Linked DNA regions of Homo sapiens: region 2 is linked to region 1. Evidence: promoter capture Hi-C in human tissues and cell types (Jung and others, 2019). All regions are on one chromosome and are shown on one strand. The core of a region is centred on a gene start or on the middle of the fragment in contact, and the rest is flanking DNA. Distances in the headings are between cores, read along the strand shown. Region 1 holds the start of B3GNT8 (UDP-GlcNAc:betaGal beta-1,3-N-acetylglucosaminyltransferase 8). Region 2 overlaps BLVRB (biliverdin reductase B).

What was found. The method cuts DNA at HindIII sites, captures the fragments that hold promoters and counts their contacts. A contact is called where the count stands out against the background at its distance.
Region 2: a contact is called between a fragment that was not itself captured here and the fragment with the promoter of B3GNT8 in region 1, in 1 of the 25 tissues and cell types used here (dorsolateral prefrontal cortex).

Annotation. Positions count from the first base shown.
Region 1 is chr19:41,425,885-41,429,996 of GRCh38, forward strand. B3GNT8 (UDP-GlcNAc:betaGal beta-1,3-N-acetylglucosaminyltransferase 8) reads right to left here and starts at 1,490. Exons shown (of 2, transcript NM_001385648.2): 1 at 1,400-1,490; 2 at 1-926. The coding sequence starts at 894. RefSeq lists silencers at 1,531-1,640, 1,661-1,810. The HindIII fragment of the contact is 6,844 bases long and covers 1-4,063 here.
Region 2 is chr19:40,453,390-40,457,533 of GRCh38, forward strand. All of the region lies in intron 3 of BLVRB (biliverdin reductase B), which reads right to left. Among named protein-coding and RNA genes, the nearest start is that of BLVRB, 10 kb to the right of the region's middle. The HindIII fragment of the contact is 7,951 bases long and covers 1-4,144 here.

The sequences.
Region 1 (4,112 bases), core at 240-2,739:
TTCGAAGAAGGACTCGGGCACATAGAAGGGTCCTCCTGGCTTCCGGAGAGGCATGGCCTGGGTAAAGACCTCACCCAGGTAGAGGCTTCGGGCCGAGGCAGGTGGCAGGGCCCGCAGGTGAGCCAGCAGGGCAGGGGTGTGTACAAAGGCATCGTCCTGAGCTCGCAAGACAAAACTCACGGTGGGGCAGTGGCGGCCCAGCCAGGCCAGCAGCAGCAGGTCTTTGAGCGTCTGGTTGAATGGGACGTCGAGGAAGTCCCAGAGCAGCAGGTCACTGTAGCGACGGCTCTCCCAGGCCACTAGTGAGTCTAGGTCAGGCCCCGCCTCACCCACCGGAGACCCTAGCAGGAAGAGCAGCCGGATCCCTGGAGCTGGACTGCCCCACGTCTCTCTCACGGCCTGTCGTTCTGCAAAGCGCCCTGGTTCTGACTTGACGGCCAACAGCAGGTAGGGGACATCAGTATCTGAGCAGCTGGAGACTTGGCTGCCACCACCTCCAGGCAGCCACTGTGGGAAGCTCCGGCAGGCTGCTGACAGCAAGAAGCGGCGGAGGTCCTTGGGGTAGGAGGCGAAGTCAGGGATCTCGGTGGCGGCGGCGGCCCCCCAAGCCTGGCAGCCCCCCGTTTCAGTGCTGTCCCCACTGGGCAGGGACCCCAGCCGCCACTGCTGCTGGTTCCAGTAAGCAAAGGGCAGCGGGATAGTCTGGCCCAGGCGGGTGGAGAGGTTGGCAGGTAGGGTGGGCTCAGGGTTGGCTGGCGTGGGGCTTGGCGGGGTGCCCCGAGGGCTGGGGTAGGCCTTGCTGAGCCGGGACTCGGATGTCCACTCGATGTACACTTTGAGGCCCAGGAGTGTGAGCAGTGCTGACAGGCAGAGAAGGCACTTGGGGCAGCGCATGACCCGGCCCAGGGAAGGGGCGGCCGCGGGAGCTACAAGGGAGCCACAGGGGAGCCACGGAGGCCATTGGGGTGTGGGGATGGGCCTCCAGAGAGGGCCCAGCCAGGCCCCAGGCAGACAGCTTCACAATCTCCCATAGTCCCCGCCAACCCCCATAACAGATTCTCTCGGTCCCAGATCCTAAACAGCTCCCCTGACCCAGGGACCTCGTTGGTCCTTATTCCTAGACCTAGGAGTCCCCCATTCCAATCCCGTACCAGCACCCTGTTCTTCCCACTCCGTCCAAATGCTTCCACCTTCCTAAAAGCCCAAGGGTCTACCTCTTCCCTGTCTCCATCCAGGACAAGGGACCTTGCCGTCTATCTCCTCCCTCTCCCTCCATTTATTGCCCTCACCAGGAAATCAGGAGCGGGATTCCTAGCTCCCTGGGGTTAGAAACCCAGCCTGCCTCCCGCAACACCCCAACCCCAGGGACTGGGGAACCAGGGATCCCATGCTTTTTTACCTCTGGGTCTGGCTCCCGCCAGCTCCGGGTGCCGGCCTCAGGTCAGGCCTCCCTCAGCTCCCTCTGATCTGCCTGCCCCAGCCCCTGTGTTGTCGACCGGCGGGGCCCAGCCCTGCCCAGCCAGTCCAGAGGGGCGGGGAGGGGAGTGGAGCGGGAGCAGGGAGGGCCCCAGGGGCCGGGGCGGGGCTGAGGCAGGAGAGAGGGAGGGAGGGAGGGAGGGAGGAGGGCAGGAGGCCGACCTGAGAGATGGGGCTCTGGCGTGTTAGGGCTGGTTTCTGGTGAGACAGCTGGGAAGGGTGCAGGGGGCAGCCACAGAAACAAGACGGGGGCTTTGTGAGGCCTGGGAGGGGAGAACCAGGGCCAGGGGGTGCCAGGGAGGGTGGGGCTGAAGGCTGGGCCTGGGCTGGGGAGTGTTAGAGTGACCAGGGCGAGGCAGGGTCCCACTGAGGCAGAGATGGGGAGGCTGAGAGGCTGGCGCCCGGCTGCACCCATGGCCAGGAGGCGGCAGTGAATGTGCTGAGTGGGAAGGGATCGGCGGGCCTGCCAGAGGGATGTTTGTTGTTGCTGCCCAGTCAGGGTGAGGTGGGGGGAACGGGGCTGGTGAGGAGAAGGAGAGACAGAGACATTGTGGAGAGGGAAGAGACGGCCAGGGAGCAGAGAGAGGAGAACTGGGGTGAGACAGGCGATGGAGAGAGCTGAGGGGGAGAGAGAGAGAAGACGGGCAAGTGGGAAGGTGGCCAGGAGGGAGAGGGGGAGGGAAATGGAGATGGCGAGAAAGATAAGGGGTTGCGGAAGCCCTGTGGGGTGCTCATGGGGAAAGAGAGGTTGAGAGAGGCAGGTGGAGGGCAGAGGGGAGGGACTCAGGCTTCCGAGCCAGACCCAGGCAGAGGCGGAGAGGGAGCCAAGGGGAAGAACAGGAGAGGAAAAGACTGGAGCTTCAAGGGCAATAGAGGGTGACGGGGTGGGGCCCACGGGGAACCCCGGGAGCTAAGCTGATCCCCTGTACCTCCTCCATCCCTCTCGGCACCCGGGCTGCCTGCCCAGCAGCGTGGGAATCTGTTCCTACCTTACCCCCAACCTCCGGCCTGGAGCCAGCCTCACCCCGGGCCCCTCCCCTCCCCCAGCGGCACTGTGACTCCAGGAACACTCACATCCAGCCCCTTGGGGCAGGAGGGGGTGTCTGCCTGTGTTTGCATCCCTGCCCTCCAGGGGCCCCTGCTGTTGGGACTGCATCAGCTCTCTGAAGACCTCCCAAGACATGGGGTAAGACTAAGGGGCTCCCACTAAGCCTGGGCTGACCCCTTCACTCCACCCTGGTTTGGGGCAGGCCTGTCCCCATCATGGCAGGAACACAGTCTGTCAGCAGCAGCAGTTGATGATCTGTCCAGCCCTGATTTCCTCCCCCAAAGTTTGAATAATGGAGCCTGTGGGAACAGCTGGAGGAAGAGAGTGGGGAGGAAGTGGTGAATATTAATGGAATAATAGTTGGAGTGGGAAATGACAGCTAGGGGCTGGGGGCAGGGGCCCGAGCACCTCCTGAGGGAGTCTGCAAGCCCACTCCACTCTGGGGCTGGGGGAGAGGGACTCCAGGCCCCCTGAGCTCATCTAGCTTCTGGGGGCAGGGGGTGCTGCTCCTCCTGGAAGCATTAGGAAGCTTCACAAGGTGCCTTTCTTTTTGCCTTTGCCATGTGCCTCAGTCCGGGTCCAATCAGGAGAGAGAAACCACACAGGAATGGGAATAGGGAAAGTTCAATATACAGAATGATTAACTCTCATGGGATTGGCCACTAAGGGGTGCCTTCTTGGGGAACATGGTTGGAGGGTGGACATGCTGGTGGAACACGATCATTCCAATCCAACACTTCTGTCTCCCCAAGCCTTGGGACTCCCCTCACCCATCTTATGCTAGGGCAGTTCTGGTCTCTCTGCCTCATTAACTTTAGGCCACTGTTGGATCCAAGTTCCGGTTAGGCACCCAAGCAAGCTATTAGAACTACGTCCAGCTGCACAAGGTAACCCATGAAATCCAGAAGCTCTAGAAAGCGCACTCATGCCAGTAAATTTGGCCTGAGCTAGTGTTACATCCACCCTCATTGGTGTAACATCCTTAAAATCCCCTTCTGCACACATTCCCCAAGTTTCTGACTCTGTATATTTGCGAAGCCTTGTCATTCTTATAGTGTAAAAGCTGCTCCCGCCTAGGTCCTAGCTGGCACCTGTTCACCTGGAGCAAGCTGATTTCACCCTAGGTATTTATGGGTCTAGAGGCAGCAAGGGGCGCTGTGGTGAGTCTTAAGAAGAATGGGGTGTATCTGTTATTTCTGTATAAGAGCTGGCCATAAGAAAAAAAAAACTGTGGTGGGACAGTGGCTCACCCCTGTAATCCCAATACTCTGGGAGGCCAAGAGGGAAGGATCACTTTCCAGGAGTTCAAGACCAGCCTGGGCAACATAGTGAGATCTTACCGCTAATCAAAAAAAAAAAAAAAAAAAAAAGGACGACCACTTTCAAGGTGTCTGCCCCTGGTGAGGTCATCACAAGGTTTTTTTTTTGAGACGGAGTCTCACTCTGTCACCCAGGTTGGAGTGCAGTGGCATGATCTCCGCTCACTGCAAGCCTCACCTCCCAGGTTCACGCCATTCTCCTGCCTCAGCCTCTCAAGTAGCTGGGACTACAGACGCCCGCCACCATGCCCGGCTAATGTTTTTGTATT
Region 2 (4,144 bases), core at 159-2,658, 970 kb before region 1:
CACCACACGCTAGAGTTATCCTGTGACTCTATCACATTTCCTGCTCCAATCCCAGCCCTTAGAAGCATCTGGAACATTGTAGGTACTTACTAAATATTTGTTCAGGAATTAGCTTTCAACAAGCTATAACTTGGCCAAGCTACACCAGCTGACATTTATAGAACTTTTACCTCAAGCCAAGAACTATGCTAAATATTTTTAGGAGCAGTTTGGTGAATAGTTAAAGAGCTTGGGTTTTGCCTAAAGTCAAGTACTGGATCGACCACTGGCCAGCTTCTTGTTTCCTCATGTGCAAACTGGGATGATATAAATTGTTCAAAGGCTGGGCAGAGTGGCTCACACCTGTAATCCCAGCACTTTGGGAGGCTGAGGTAGGAGGATCAGTTGAGCCCAGCAGTTCTAGACTCACCTGGGTACGATGGTGAGACCTGTCTCTACAGAAAATTAAAAAATTAGCCAGGCGTGGGGACCTGTGGTCTTAGCTGCTTAGAAGGCTGAGGCGAGAGGATCGCTTGAGCTCAGGAGTTCGAGGCTGCAGTGAGCTGTGATTGCACCGCTGCACTCCAGCCTGGACAACAGAGCAAGACCTTGTCTCAACAAAAAGAAATAAATAAATAGTTTGAGTAATGTTAGTGGTTATAAAAAGGTGTGTCACAGAGACCAGCCTGGGCAACAAAGCCAGACTCTGTCGCAACAAAAAAATTTTAAAAATTAGATGGGCATGGTGGCACATGCCTGTGGTCTCAGCTACTCAGGAGGATCCCTTGAGCCTAGGAGTTGGAGGCGGTAGCGAGCTATGATGACATCATTCTCACTGCAACCTCCACCTACAAGTTTCAAGTGATTCTCCTGCCTAAGCCTCCTGAGTAGCTGGGATTACAGGCGTGTGCCACCACACCTGGCTAGTTTTTGTATTTTTGGTAGAGACGGGGTTTCACCATGTTGGCCAGGCTGGTCTCGAACTCCTGACCTCAAGCGATCCACCTGCCTTAGCCTCCTAAAGTGCTGGGATTACAGCGTGAGCCACTGCGCCTGGTCTAGGATTTCCTCTTTACAGATGAGAAAACTGCGGTGCAGAGTGTGAAGTGGGTTTTTGTCTGCAGCCTCCAGTCTCCAGTTCACAATCTCAAATCCAGTCTCTAACTTACCCCTAGTTTCTTTTTTCTTTTTTTTTTTGAGGCAGTCTCGCTCTGTCACCCAGGCTGGAGTGCAGTGGCACGATCTCAGCTCACTGCAAGCTCCTCCTCCCGGGTTTACGCCATTCTCCTGCCTCAGCCTCCCGAGTAGCTGGGACTATAGGCACCCGCCGCCACGCCTGGCTAATTTTTTGTATTTTTAGTAGAGACGGTGTTTCACTGTGTTAGCCAGGATGGTCTCAATCTCCTGACCTCGTGATCCACCCACCTTGGCCTCCCAAAGTGCTGGGATTACAGGCGTGAGCCACAGCACCCGGCTGTTTTGTTGTGTTTTGAGACAGGGTCTTGCTCTGCAGCCAAGGCTGGAGTGCAGTGGTGCCATCACGGCTCACTGCAACCTCTGCCTTCTAGGCTCAAAGGATCCTCCTACCTAAGCTTCCCAAGTATTGGGGACCACAGGTGTGTACCACCACACCCAGCTAATTTTTTGTATTTTTTTTTTGTAGAGATGGAGTTTTGCTGTGTTGCCCAGACTGGTCCTGCACTCCTGGACGCAAGCAATCCGCCCACCTTGGCCTCTCAAAGTGCTAGGATTACAGGCGTGAGCCACTGTGCCTGGCCTTACTCTGGGTTTCTTTCTAATCCTCTCAGATGCCTCCATAAAAAACAATCCTCCCCAAGCCCTAATGGATAAACTCCAAGCTCCTTAGATGACAAAAATCTTTCTAATCTTTTACCTTGACATTTGAATATGGAGGGAAGATTAAACTCTAATAATTAGAGGCTGGAAGATAATTAAAGTGTGACAATAGCACTGTGGTGCTGGAAGAGAAAAGTCCTTTTTCTTGGGACTTGCCGAAGGTGTCTGTGGGTGTGCAACTCCATTTCAAATAGTTTAGGAAGTCTGGGCGCAGTGGCTCATGCCTGTAATCCAGCACTTTGGGAGGCCAGATCACTTGAGGTCAGACCAGCCTGCCCAATATGGTGAAACCCCATCTATACTAAAAATACACACACACAAAATTAACCAGATGTGGTGGCAGGCACCTGTAATCCCAGCTACTCAGGAGGCTGAGGCAGGAGAATCCCTTGAACCCAGGAGGTGGATGTTGCAGTGAGCCAAGATCACGCCACTGTATTCCGGCCTGGGTGACAGAATGAGACTCTGTCTCAAATAAAAACAAACAAACAAAAAACCCAAATAGTTTAGGAGAACAAAAACAAAATCTATTTGTGTATGTGTATGTGCATAGATAAACCAATTACAAAACACAATCACAATTTTAAAATCAGGAATATGGCTGTTGGCCAGGTGCAGTGGCTCAGGTGTAATCCCAGCACTTTGGGAGGCTGAGGCTGGTGGATCGCTTGAGTCCGGGAGTTCGGGACCAGCCTGGGCAACATGGCGAAACTCTATCTCTACCAAAAATACAAAAATTAGCCAGCCTTATAACCCGGTCTCAAAATAAATAAATAAATAGATAGATAGCTACAAACTTAAAAATAAAAAAAGAAAAGGAATATGGTTGTTCACACGACTATTAACTTTTCTGTTTAAAAATTTTTATAATAAAAAGTTAAAAAGTATATTGAGGACCTACACATTGAAGTAAGCAGCCATGATGTATGTAAGCTAACTTCAAATGGGTCAGAAAAAAAACATTGTGTGTCTGTGAACAGAGGACGGTAGGTGTACTGGTGTCCTTTCAATTTTTCTGTAAGTTTAAGATCATTTCCAGATAAAAAGTTAAGCTGGACTCAATGGCTCATACCTGTTGCCCCAGCTATTTGAGGGGCTAAAGTGAGGGGATTCCTTGAGCCCAGGGGTTCAAGGGTACAATGAGCTATGATCAGGCCACTGCACTCCAGCCTGGGTGACAGAGCGAGACCTTGTCTCTATGTTTGTTTTTTTTTTAATGAAAAAAAAAATCCTGGCACACCTAAGACTTTAATATTTAGAAAACAATCTAAACAAAAAAAAATGAGAAAAAAGAAAGCAAATTAAATCAATTTTACAGGTTTGTCTTTTTCATGGAAGCAAAACTTAACCAGTTAAATTGGTTTTTAAGACATGGGAGAGTCTGGACGTGGTGGCTTATACCTGTAATCTCAGCACTTTGGAAGGCTGAGGTGGGAGGACTGCTTGAGGCCAGGAGTTCAACATCAGCCTGGCCAACATGGCAAAACCTTGTCTCTACCAAAAATACAAAAATTAGCAGGGCATGGTGGCAGGCGCCGGTAATCCCAGCTACTCAGGAGGCTGGGGCAGGAGAATCACTGTGGGCCACGATCTTGGTCCCAGGCACCATGAACCCGGGAGGTGGAGTGGCGGTTGCAGTGAGCTGATACCACGCCACTGCACTCCAGCCTGGGCAATGGAGTCAGACTTCATCTCAAAGAAAAAAAGACATGGGAGAAAAAAACAAAACTAAAATTAACAGCAGACCATTCCAATCTGCGAACAAAAGTAAGACCTTGTCTCTACAAAAATATCAAAAAATTAGCCAGGTGTGGTGGTGCATGCCTGTAGTCCCAGCCGCTTGGGAGGCTGCAGTGGGGAGGATCACTTGAACCCAGACTGAGGCTGCAGTGAGCCATGGTTGCACCACTGCACTCCAGCCTGGGTGACAGAAAGTCTCAAAAAAAAAAAAAAAAAGTGAACCATTCTGAAATCGCAAGTTTACTCGTGTATTACTTTTCCATTTCAGAGCTTGAGGAAAAAAGCCATAAATGATTTTGCTTCCTACCCTCCAACTAGGTCTGGCCTCCAGGCCTCTTTGCTTGCTTTGTCCTCTGCCTGGAGTGTAATTACAATCATCAGGCAGCCCTCCCTCATGCCACTTCCCTTTCCAGGGAGGCAATTTGTGTCATGAAACACACTTGAGGTCAGGAGTTCGAGACTAGCCTGGCCAACATGGCGAAACCCTGTCTCTACTAAAAATACAAAAATTAGCTGGGCATGGTGGTGCACACCTGTAGTCCCAGCTACCTGGGAGGCAGAGGCAGGA